Linked DNA regions of Homo sapiens: region 2 is linked to region 1. Evidence: promoter capture Hi-C in human tissues and cell types (Jung and others, 2019). All regions are on one chromosome and are shown on one strand. The core of a region is centred on a gene start or on the middle of the fragment in contact, and the rest is flanking DNA. Distances in the headings are between cores, read along the strand shown.

Region 1 (5,385 bases), core at 1,152-3,651:
GTTAAACAGATACTGTGTGCCTAACATGTGCAACAGATTGTCGCGAGGATGGAATGCTGACAAACGGAACAGATGTGTTCCCTACTCTTCACAGGCTCTGTGTCTCAGTTTTCCATCATTCACTTAACTTTACACAATGCCCATTATGCGCTAGGCACTGAAGGTACGATGGCAAACACATCAGATACGGTCATCCATGTCTTCATGAAGCATCAGTCTAGTGGGAAAAACAAGTATCGTTGCACTGTACCAGAGTTATTTTTTATTTTTTTCCGAGACGCAGTCTTGCTCAGTTGACCAGGCTGGAGTGGAGTGGTGTGCTTTCGGCTCAGTGCAACCTCCACCTCCTGGGTTCAAGCGATTCTTCTGCCTCAGCCTCCCGAGTAGCTGGGATTACAGGCATGCACCACCACACCCAGCTAATTTTTGTATTTTTAGTAAGGACGAGGGGTGGGGGTCTCACCATGTTGGCCAGGCTGGTGTCAAACTCCTGACCTCAAATGATCCACTCGCCTCAGCCTCCCAAAGTGCTGGGATTACAGGCATGCGCCACCACACCCGCCTAATTTTGGTACTCTTAGTAGAGATGGGGTTTACAGGGTTTCACCATGTTGGCCAGGCTGGTCTCTATCTCTTGACCTCAGGAGCTGCCTGCCTCGGCCTCCCAAAGCGCTGGGATTACAGGCGTGAGCCACCGCACCCAGCCCTGTACCAAAGTTATTAAATGGAGGAAGCAGAAATTAATTTGGGAGGGAGGGTCAGGGAAAACTTCCTGGAAGACACATCTATGCTGAAATGTGAGTTAAGTTTGCCAGACTAAAAAAATGAGAGGGCTCACTTTCTTTGAGTATTCAGGAGGACAAACAAACAAACAACAACAACCAAACCCAAAAACAGTACGAGAGCACAAACAAGACTGAAGTACACATATGTGCCCTGAACACAAAAAACATCTTGAGCACCCTGCTTTTAAGCCTCCTGGCCATTCTGTCACTTCTGTTGGAAAGTATTTCCCTCCTTGTCCATTTCTGTGAATTCCTTCTGTTATGGTTAAACTGTTCCCCCAGCACTCCAGAATGTGATTGTATTTGGAGATCAGGCTTGTAAGAAGGTAATTAAGTTAAAATGAGGCCATTAAGGTGGGCCCTAATACAACCTGACTGACGTTCTCATAAAGAGGAAATCTGGATGCAAAGAGAGACGCCAGAGATGTGAAAACACAGAGGAAAGACCATGCGAGGACACAGCAAGAAAGCAGCCACGTGCAAGCCAAGGAGAAATGTCTCAGAAGAAACCAAACCTGAAGACACCTTGATCTTGGACTTCTAACCTCCAGAACTGTGAGAAAATAATAAATTTCTGTTGTTTAAGCCACCCAGTATTTTGTTTGCAGTCCTAGCAAACTAATACACCTTCTATTCCAGGCCCAACACTGCTCACTTTCAGAGTGAAACCTTATCACCCATATACACACACCTTGGGAGTGAAGGTTTCTCACAATACTCTGTGCATCCTCCACTCAACTTTCATTCATTCATTTAAGCAACAAACACCTAGTGACCACCACTGTGTGCCAGACCCTGTTTTAAGGGCTGAGAAGAGCTAACGTTTATTGAGTACTTACTAAGTGGCAGCCACTAGTCTAAGCGATTTACATGCACCAACTCATGAAATACGACAAGGTTCCAGGGACGCAGGTGCCGCTATGACATTCGCTTTACAGATGCGGGGCTGAGGCACAAAGAGGCCACACCGTAATGAAACTGAGCTAGGCTGTGGGCTCTGTCGTCTTAAGCGCTACTCTCAACTACAGCGTGGAAGGAAACAGAAGCCGAGAGATGGGCAGCGCGTAGCGGAGGCGGGCCGGGCTGGCTTCCAGCGGGCAAAGCCTGGAGATGAGAGGGCGCGGGTGGGGTTTCCAGGCCGAGGAAGCTGCACCAGGGAGAAGGCCCGGCTCCCAGGCCCGGAACCTGGCCGTCTGGGTCTCAGTCCGCGTCCCCTGTGATGCCCGGCACAGAGCAAATGCTCGCTGACTCTCGCAGGAGCCGCCAACCCCCCGGGTATCCTCGAGTGCCCAGAGACGGGAAGGAGCGGTGGGTCCATGCCCTTCTGGGCCACCTTCGGGCGCCCGGCCTCCCTTCCCTTCCGGGCCATTCCCACCAGCGCCAGCCCCGCACGCCTTCGCAAGGCCGGCCACCTTACCCTCGGAGGCCGCTCTCTGCCCCGCCGCCTACTCTTCACCTGCAGCAGCTGCCTTCAAGGCCACTCGCAGCGATCCGCTGGCCGCGGAATCATCACGACAACGCCCCCTTGGCTTGCCGGAACCGCCTTCCTGCTTCCGTTGGCGTCACTTCCACTGGGGGGGGCGTGGCCGCGGTGCGCAGGCGCGCTGGGTGGTTCAGAAGCGAATTCTGCACCGCGAAGCCTGAGAGGCAGGTAGCTGCGGCGCTGGGCTGGCGGCGGCGAGTCCACGTGCTCCCCGCGGCCGGTTGAAACCGTTGGCGGGCGCTGGCTGAGAGGTGAGGGGTGGTGGCCCAGAGGTCCGACCTGGGAGGCTGGGGCTCAGAGAGTGAGTAGGGGAGGGACGGGATTTCCACCGTCAGCCCCTCTGGGTTACGCATGGAGGAAGGAGTTCCATTCAGATCTCACTCCTGCTCTGGGGAAGTGGCAGGAGTCCTGGACTTAGGGTGACCAACTCGTTTTAGTTTTAAAACTTAAGGTCCGGCGTCCTGGGAACTCCCTCGGGCCTGGCCAAACCAGGACGATTGGTCACCGCCCGACTGGGCTTCAGGCTTGCTGCATGTTGGAGACAGGGCTCTTCTCTGAGCCTTGGGAGATCAGTCCCTAAAGAGGAGGCCTTAGGATGTAGCGGTCCAGAGCACATACTTAGGATCAGAATAACTACTGCGTGTGAATCTGGGTTGCCACTACCTGGATGTGGGATGACCTGGTGTAAGTTTTTTAACCTCTTTGCGCCTCACTTTCCTCATCTGTCATAACATATAGAATCTAACTCGGAGAACTGTGATGAGGATTACATGAGTAGAAATGTGTTAACCTCCTATGAGAGGGCTTGGGTGCTCCATGAATGTTAGGATTCTCTGAAGCACCTACCTCTGAGGAGAGAGGGAGGAGGATGAGGTGGGGTCTGTATTTGCAACCCTGATTTCTAGCAGAGAGGGCCCACTTGGGACTTACTCACACTGTGCCCGAGGCTCCCAGGGTCTAGCATAGTGCCTGACACATGGTAGTTACTCGAGTGAAGGGATGGTGTTTAAAACAGTGCTGGTGATGCCGTGGGTGGGGTAGGAGGCAGAGAGAAATGGCTTCTGTGCCTCAGTTTGCTCATCTGTTTAGTGGAGATAGGTGCACCTACTTCCCAGGGCTTTTGCAAGGAACAAGGGAGAGATTCTCTCCTTGTGAATGTCACCCATTGTAACCCTTGTCAGCCTCATACACAAAGGTTTAGGCAGGATGGTGGACAGAGTATGTTTGTCTGTCCTTCTCTTGCACCATACCCATGGTTTCTCAGAATGCTACCCGTGGAAGGGGCTTGAGTCTTGTCAAGTTGGCCTGACTTCTTGTTTCACAGATGAGATAACTTGAAGTTTATAGAGGCAGTGGCATGCTCAGGGTCACAGTGTTCAGTGGGGGATATCCTGGGGTTGCCAGCTAGGCCCCTCAGGTGGGCTGTTTGAGTGGTAGTGGTGGTAATGATGTGTAGGTCAGTGTCTGCATGTGCATGCAAGAATATTTTAAGAATAGTCAAGGCCAAGCGCAGTGGCCCGTGCCTGTCATCCGAGCACTTTGGGAGGCCGAGGAGGGTGGATCACCTGAGGTCAAGAGTTCACAACCAGCCTGGCCAACATGGTGAAACTCCGTCTCTACTAAAAATACAAAAATTAGCCGGGCATGGTGGCATGTGCCTGTAATCCCAGCTACTGGGGAGGCTGAGGCCGGAGAATCACTTGAACCTGGGAGGCAAAGGCTGCAGTGAGCCGAGATTGCGCCATTGTACTCCAGCCTGGGCAACAGAATGAGACTCCGTCTCAAAAAAAAAAAAAAAAAGAAAAAAAATTGAATAAGTAATACAAAAATATAGAGGGAAGAAGATTTAAAAAAAATCATTCCAATCTCAGAACCAAACCTAAGGGCATGTTATCAGGGAACTTGGTAAAGTAGGCAGCCATGGGGTGAGGAGCCAGAGAAGGTTGGAGTGAATTTATGAACATAAATGGGTGGGTTGATGGTCATATTTAAAGGAGCATGGGTTTAGGAGGGGGCTGGGTATAATAGCATTGATGTGCAAATTAGTAGGTCACAGAGAAACCTTTCTACAATTGGGCAGGGATGAAGCTTTCATATCTGGTGTCTTATTTAACTTTCCACCCAATGCTTTGAGTTAGGTATTAGATCCATTTTACAGATAAACAGATTCTGGGAAGTTAAGGTGCTTTGAGGTCATTTAGTTTTTAATGACTTTTTTGACATTAGCAGATGTAGGCTCCAGCTCAGATCCTCTACACCTGAGTCAGGGCCCTGTCCAACAAAAGCTGGCAACCATCTTGTTAAGAGAAGACTAACAAGTTCCCAGCCCCTTAGTGACCACTGGCTGCTGCCCCTCAGCTAGCTTTGCTGTCCAGACCCTGACAGCCTCTCCTGTGACATGGGTGGTCTCCTTGCCCACTGCACAGAGGTTTTATAATTAAGACTTAGGGTTCTAATATTTATACATGGAAAGTCATCTTATAGAGACCTTAATTTTTTTTCTCTTTGGATGAGGACCTCAAGGTCCCAGGTGCTGAGTAACCACCAAGCAAACGGCTAGGACATGGCAGGTCAAGATGGAGGCAGGGTGGGAGCCTGGGCTTGCTGCCTGGTCTTTCAGGCCACCTCTGCCACTTACTGTGACTTCGGGCAGTTCACTTACCCTCCTGAGCCTTAGGTTTTCTCTCCAGATGGAGGTAGTATGATCATAGCAGTCTTAGTGGTATTGGGGGCAGTTGTGTTCATAAATGGGACACGGCTTTGTAGAGAGCTAATGATCATGTGTTCTATGGTGCAGACCCCGTCATCTTTTTCATGGGTATGGCATGTGATGAGAGCTCAGTAAACTGACCATACAGACAGACGAAGACGCAGCCAGGAGCACACGCAGAGGACCTGCGTGAGGGCCCCAGGTGTATCTGGGTGGATAGGATAGTGTCAGCATTCAGGAAATGTCTGCCGAATTGAGTTAAAGTGACTGAGCAAGAACCGAAGTATGCTCTCAACCAGTCCAAGAACACTGCCTTCTGCCTGCCTTTCTCTTTTAACATGCGCATGTGGCCAGAAGGAAAGCATGTAGAATCTCTCTGGCTGCGCTGGGACTGGACATTGGGCAGA
Region 2 (5,385 bases), core at 797-3,296, 1.9 Mb before region 1:
AGATCATGTCATTGCACTCCAGCCTGGGCAACAAGAGCAAAACTGTCTCAAAAAAAAAAAAAAAAAAAAAAAAAAAGAACAAATGCAAAACATGTGCCTACCTTACAGTCACCAGGTTGGCAAAAATTTAACATTCAGCCAATACTATACGTTGGCAAATACGTGAAATAACTGGTTTCTTATAGATTGTTGGCTGATGCCTTTAATTGGGTGGATTGAACAACAAAAATTCACTTCTAACAGTTCTGGAGGGTGAAGTCCAAGATCGGAGCGTTAGCATGGTCAGGTTCTGGTGAGGGCCCTTGTTTTGGCTTGTAGATGGCCGCCTTCTGGCTGTATCCTCCACATGATAAAGAGAGGGATCATCTCTCTCCTGTCTCTTCTTATAAGGGCACTAATCCCATTTGTGAGGACTCCATCCGCATGACCTAATTATCTCCCAAAGACTCCATCTCCGGATACCATCAGATTAAGGATTAGAGATTCCACATATGAAGTTTAGGGGGACACAAAAACTCAGTCCTTAGTAGTTGGATAATAAATTGGCATAAACATTTTAGAAAATGTAGTATCTTGTAAAGTTGAAGATGTTCATGCCCATGACTTAGCAATTCCATCTCTATAACATATACTCCAGAATAATGTTTCTCAATCAGGGGTGACTTTGCCCTCTGGAAGGCAATGGCTGGAGACACTTTTTGTTGTCACATTTTGAGGGAAGGATGCAATTGGCATCTCTTAAGTAGAGGCCAGGGATACTGCTATGCATTGTACAATGCACAGGACAGCCCCCCTTTATAAATTATCCTGCCCAAAGGTCGATAGTTTTGCAGTTGAATATCTCTGCTCTAGAAATATCTTATGCATGTGCATCAGAAGATAAGAATGGAGGGGGTCCATAGTGGCACGGTGTAAAATGAATAAAACTGATGTCCATTCCCAGTTCAGCCGCAGATATCAAAATTGATTTTAAAACTTGATATTAATTAAAAAGTAAAATGTGGAAGAAGATGTATATACCATGTATATGAAACTGGGAAAAGATAAACACATGCTTGAAGATAATGGTTACCAAATGGGGAGAGATGTGTGGGATATGGCTAATACTCTATGTGTTAAGTTGAATGGTGGGTCCATCTATGCTTGTTTATTATTTTCTCTTCTTTGAATATAGTAAAGACTTGAAGTCATGTCCCAGATAGCACAGACATCACAATTCAACAATTAGTGATTGGATCCTGTTCTCTGACCCGCCCCTATTCTCAAAAGGGATAATCAGAACTTCTCACTATCTGGAGGGGCGGTGAATATAGACGTGACTATGATCATTCAAAGCTTTCTTGGGTCATTCCAGCACCACTTGCACATGGTATAATTCCACTGCCTTTTGTGTGTGTGTGTGTGTGTGTGTGTGTGTGTGTGTTTGTGTGTGTGTGTACACGTGCCTTTCCTTAGAGGCAGTATATGGATGCAAATGAAATCCTCTTATTGTGCTTTAGAGAACATATATGTGTTATATATATGATATTTGGCATTCTTACAACATTTCACACTAAAAACATTTTTAAAATAATAGAAAACTTCTTTACTTAAAGGTATTTTATAAGGTCATATTTGCCAGCCAAACCACTTTTAAATTTTTTTGTACTGCAAATAAGCACTGTATAATAACTGCCCGAAGGAACTAAGTTTTCTTGTACTCTCAAGAAAATCTTGGAAGCTGCATAATGAGTCTATGTGTCCTGGAGACTTTCTACCAAGAATAAAACTCAGAAGCTATTTTTAAAAAGCGAGACACATATTTAACTATGTAAAAAGTTTGTCGTTGTGTGGTAAAAGATGCCATGAAGTCAAAAGATGAATGCTGGATCTGGAAAAAGTGCTTGAACGTTGGCGACAGGCAAAGGGGTCATTGTTATGCTGAGAGCCGTAACAGCGCACAAGACAAAATGTCCCTACTAAAAGTGGGCAAGGGATAGAGAATAGACAAACCTCAAAAGTGCAAATCAAATCTAAAAGAGCAAATCATATATATATGTGTGTGTGTGTGTGTGTGTATATATATGCAATATATACATAATGTGTGTGTGTGTGTGTGTGTGTATATATATATATATATATATATATATATATATATATATATATATATAAATATATATAAAACCAGGTGCTCAAATCCACCAATGGACAGAGAAACGCAAATTAAAATAACAAGGACACATCACTTTGCACCCATCAGAGTGACAACATTTACACATGCTGCAGCGTGGGTTGAGGTTGGCAATGCAGGAAATACATTGAAGCAGAAGGGTGTGTGTTAGAGTCTTGGGAAGGTAATCTGCCTATTTTTTTTTTTTTTTTTGAGACGAAGTTTCGCTCTTGTTGCCCAGGCTGGAGTGTAATGGCGCGATCTTTGCTCACTGCAACCTCTGCCTCCCGGGTTCAAGCCATTCTCCTGCCTCAGTCTCCCAAGTAGCTGGGATTATAGGCACCCGCCACCACGCCTGGCTAATTTTTTTTTTTTTTTTTTTTGTATTTTTAGTAGAGACTGGGTTTCACCATATTGGCCAGGCTGGTCTCGAACTCCTGACCTCAGGTGATCCACCTGCCTTGACCTCCCAAAGTGCTGGGATTACAGGCATGAGCCACCACACCTGGCCCCTATTTTTATTTTATTTTTTTCAAAAAGGAGGATTTTGAATGGTCCCAACACAAAGAAATGATAAACATCTGAGATGATGGCTATGCTAATTGCCATGATCTGATCACTGCACATTATATGTATCACAAAATCACTATGTACCTCCTGAATATGGACAATTATTATTTGCTAATTTAAAAATGTAAATTAAAAAGGTTAGACCTTTTTGGCCAGGCACGGTGGCTCACACCTGTAATCCCAGCACTTTGGGAGGCCAAGGTGGGTGGGTCACTTGAGGTCAGGAGTTCAAGATCAGCCTGGCTAACATGGCGAAACCCTATCTCTACTAAAAATAGAAAAGTTAGCTGGGGGTGGTGGTGTGTGCTTGTAATCCCAGGTACTTAGGAGGCCGAGGCATGAGAATCGCCTGAACCTGCGAGGCGGAGGTTGCAGTGAGCTGAGATTGCACTCCAGCCTGGGTGACAGAGCAAGACTCTGTCTCAAACAAACAAAAAACAAACAAACAGACAGACAAAAGTTTAGACCTTCCAACCAGCCATTCCACTCCTGGGAATCCATCCCATAGAAATAAAAGTAGTCCTGCTATCTGAGGGTTTGTGTAAGAATATTTAGCGCCCATGGCTGTCGGTTGGTAATGACAAAGGGACATTAACCCATAGGAAAAGGCTCTGTGAACTGTGGGATGGCCTCAGCCTGTCAGTCTAGAGATTTCCCCAGATGCTGGCAGGAATTTGCACGAGGTGTTGATGAGTGTGAAAAGTGAGAAGCAGAAAATGTGATTATCATGAATTCGTTTTGTAAAACAATGACCCCCAACCCCCCATATGTATGTATGTATATATGAATGTAGTTATTTATTCTTATGGAGAAAAATATAAAAAATGTGAAATAAAACAAGCTAGGTTGTTAACATGAGCTATTTGGTGGGGGATATGATATGGGAGGGGGAGGAGGAAGTATCCATAATAAAAACATCATGCATAAAATAAGCGCATTCCTGGAAAATTACACACATGTATCTGCTCATGAGCAGAAGCACGAAGGGAGGGTCACCTGAGTGTTCGCGGGATTACCCTTGGCTAGCAAGATTCAAGGTGACCTTTGGTTTCTTCTTTATATCTGCCTGTACTGTTTGAATTCTTTACAATGACATGTATTATTCATGGAAACAGAAAGAGCCCACAGAAAGCTGTTTTCATTGAAAGGTAGAAAAGAAAGAAGAATGCCCAGGCCTAGGGACCCTGTCGCTGGCCAGACTCTCCCTGTGCTGGTCTGTGATGGAGAACTTGGAGACTCAGCCTGCCTCACAGCCCTCACGGCTGATCCACACTGTTTTTTTGTTTGTTTGTTTGTTTGTTTGTTTTGAGACAGAGTCTTGCTCTGTCACTCAGGCTGGAGTACAATGGCATGATCTCGGCTCACTGCAACCTCCACCTCCTGGGTTCAAGCAATTCTCCTGCCTCAGCTTCCCTAGTAGCTGGGACTATAGGCGTGTGGCACCATGCCCAGCTAATTTTTTTTTTTTTTTTTTTTTTTTAGTAGAGATGGGCTTTTGCCATGTTGGCCAGGCTGGTCTCAAACTCCTGACTTCAGGTGATCCACCCACCTCGGCCTCCCAAAATGTTGGGATTACAGGTGACAGTCACCTTGGCCAGACCCACCCTGTTCCTGGAGGAAAATCCCACAGGCCCCTGGTCCCATCTCCCTGCCCAAGGGAGGAGCCTTATGCCGTGCAAAAGCCTGGATCAGCTACCTTCATGTTCACCAAAAGATGGACAGTGCGCACCACTGTCTTAAAATTTTTGAGATAGTTATAGATTCACATGCAGTTGTAAGAAATAATTCAGAGAGATCCCATATCCATCCCCCTTTATTCAGACATCTCTGGTTTAACATGAACTTGTGTGTGCATGTTTAGTGCTATGTCTCTTATCACGTGTAGGTTTGTGTGCCCAGCACCGCAGTCAAGATACAGAACAGCTCTAAACAAAGAAGCCTCAGCTACAGCTTTTATAGCTTTTATAGAAGGCTCAGCTTTTATAGCCACAGCCATTTCTCTCTTCCCTTCCCCAAGTCCTGGCAACCATGGATCTGTTTTCTGTCTCTATAATTTTGCCATTTTGATAAAGTTATATAAATGGAATCATACTGTCTTTTTCACTCGGCATAATTCTCATCCCTGTCTTTTTGGAATTGAAAGTGAACTGATGGAGAATATGAACTTGGTGTGGTTTTCCGATACTTTTTGTGTGAGTGAACATGGCCAAGTTACCTATGCTCCCTCTATCTCCTCTGGAACATGGAACTAGCGCAGGGATGGAAGGAGGGAAGATTCTCTGCCATGAAGGCTGGCAGTGTTCACCAACTGAGCACATTGGATGTGCCAAACTCTGTTTTAGGTGCGCCATGAGTGTCATCTTCTGAAACAGCCTAAGTAGCCTATGAAGTAGGTTCTGTTCCTTTCAGTGCTCAGATGAGGGAGCGGGGGCTCCAGGTGATGCAGGGAGTGAGCGGTGGAAGCAGGATTCCAGTCCCAGACTTCCTGGCAGGCGTGGGGTGTGGCACCATCTCTATTTGACAGAGAGAAGTCTGAGGCTCAGAGAGGTGAAGGAACTCGTCCTAGGGACACAGCTAATTTATGCTGAGCCAACAACAAAGCCTGGTACTCCCTATTCCTCCCCTAGCCCTGGCTTTTCTGGGTCCCTCTGCCTCAGGGGCTTGCC

What was found. The method cuts DNA at HindIII sites, captures the fragments that hold promoters and counts their contacts. A contact is called where the count stands out against the background at its distance.
Region 2: a contact is called between a fragment that was not itself captured here and the fragment with the promoter of LYAR in region 1, in 1 of the 25 tissues and cell types used here (dorsolateral prefrontal cortex).

The regions. Positions count from the first base shown.
Region 1 is chr4:4,287,170-4,292,554 of GRCh38, reverse strand. It overlaps LYAR (Ly1 antibody reactive), which reads left to right and starts at 2,401. Exons shown (of 10, transcript NM_017816.3): 1 at 2,401-2,519. It overlaps ZBTB49 (zinc finger and BTB domain containing 49), which reads right to left and starts at 2,304. Exons shown (of 8, transcript NM_145291.4): 1 at 2,203-2,304. RefSeq lists enhancers at 3,376-3,913, 3,914-4,452. The HindIII fragment of the contact is 5,433 bases long and covers 1-4,948 here.
Region 2 is chr4:6,208,439-6,213,823 of GRCh38, reverse strand. The region is part of intron 1 of JAKMIP1-DT (JAKMIP1 divergent transcript); the gene reads right to left. Among named protein-coding and RNA genes, the nearest start is that of JAKMIP1-DT, 10 kb to the right of the region's middle. The HindIII fragment of the contact is 3,673 bases long and covers 210-3,882 here.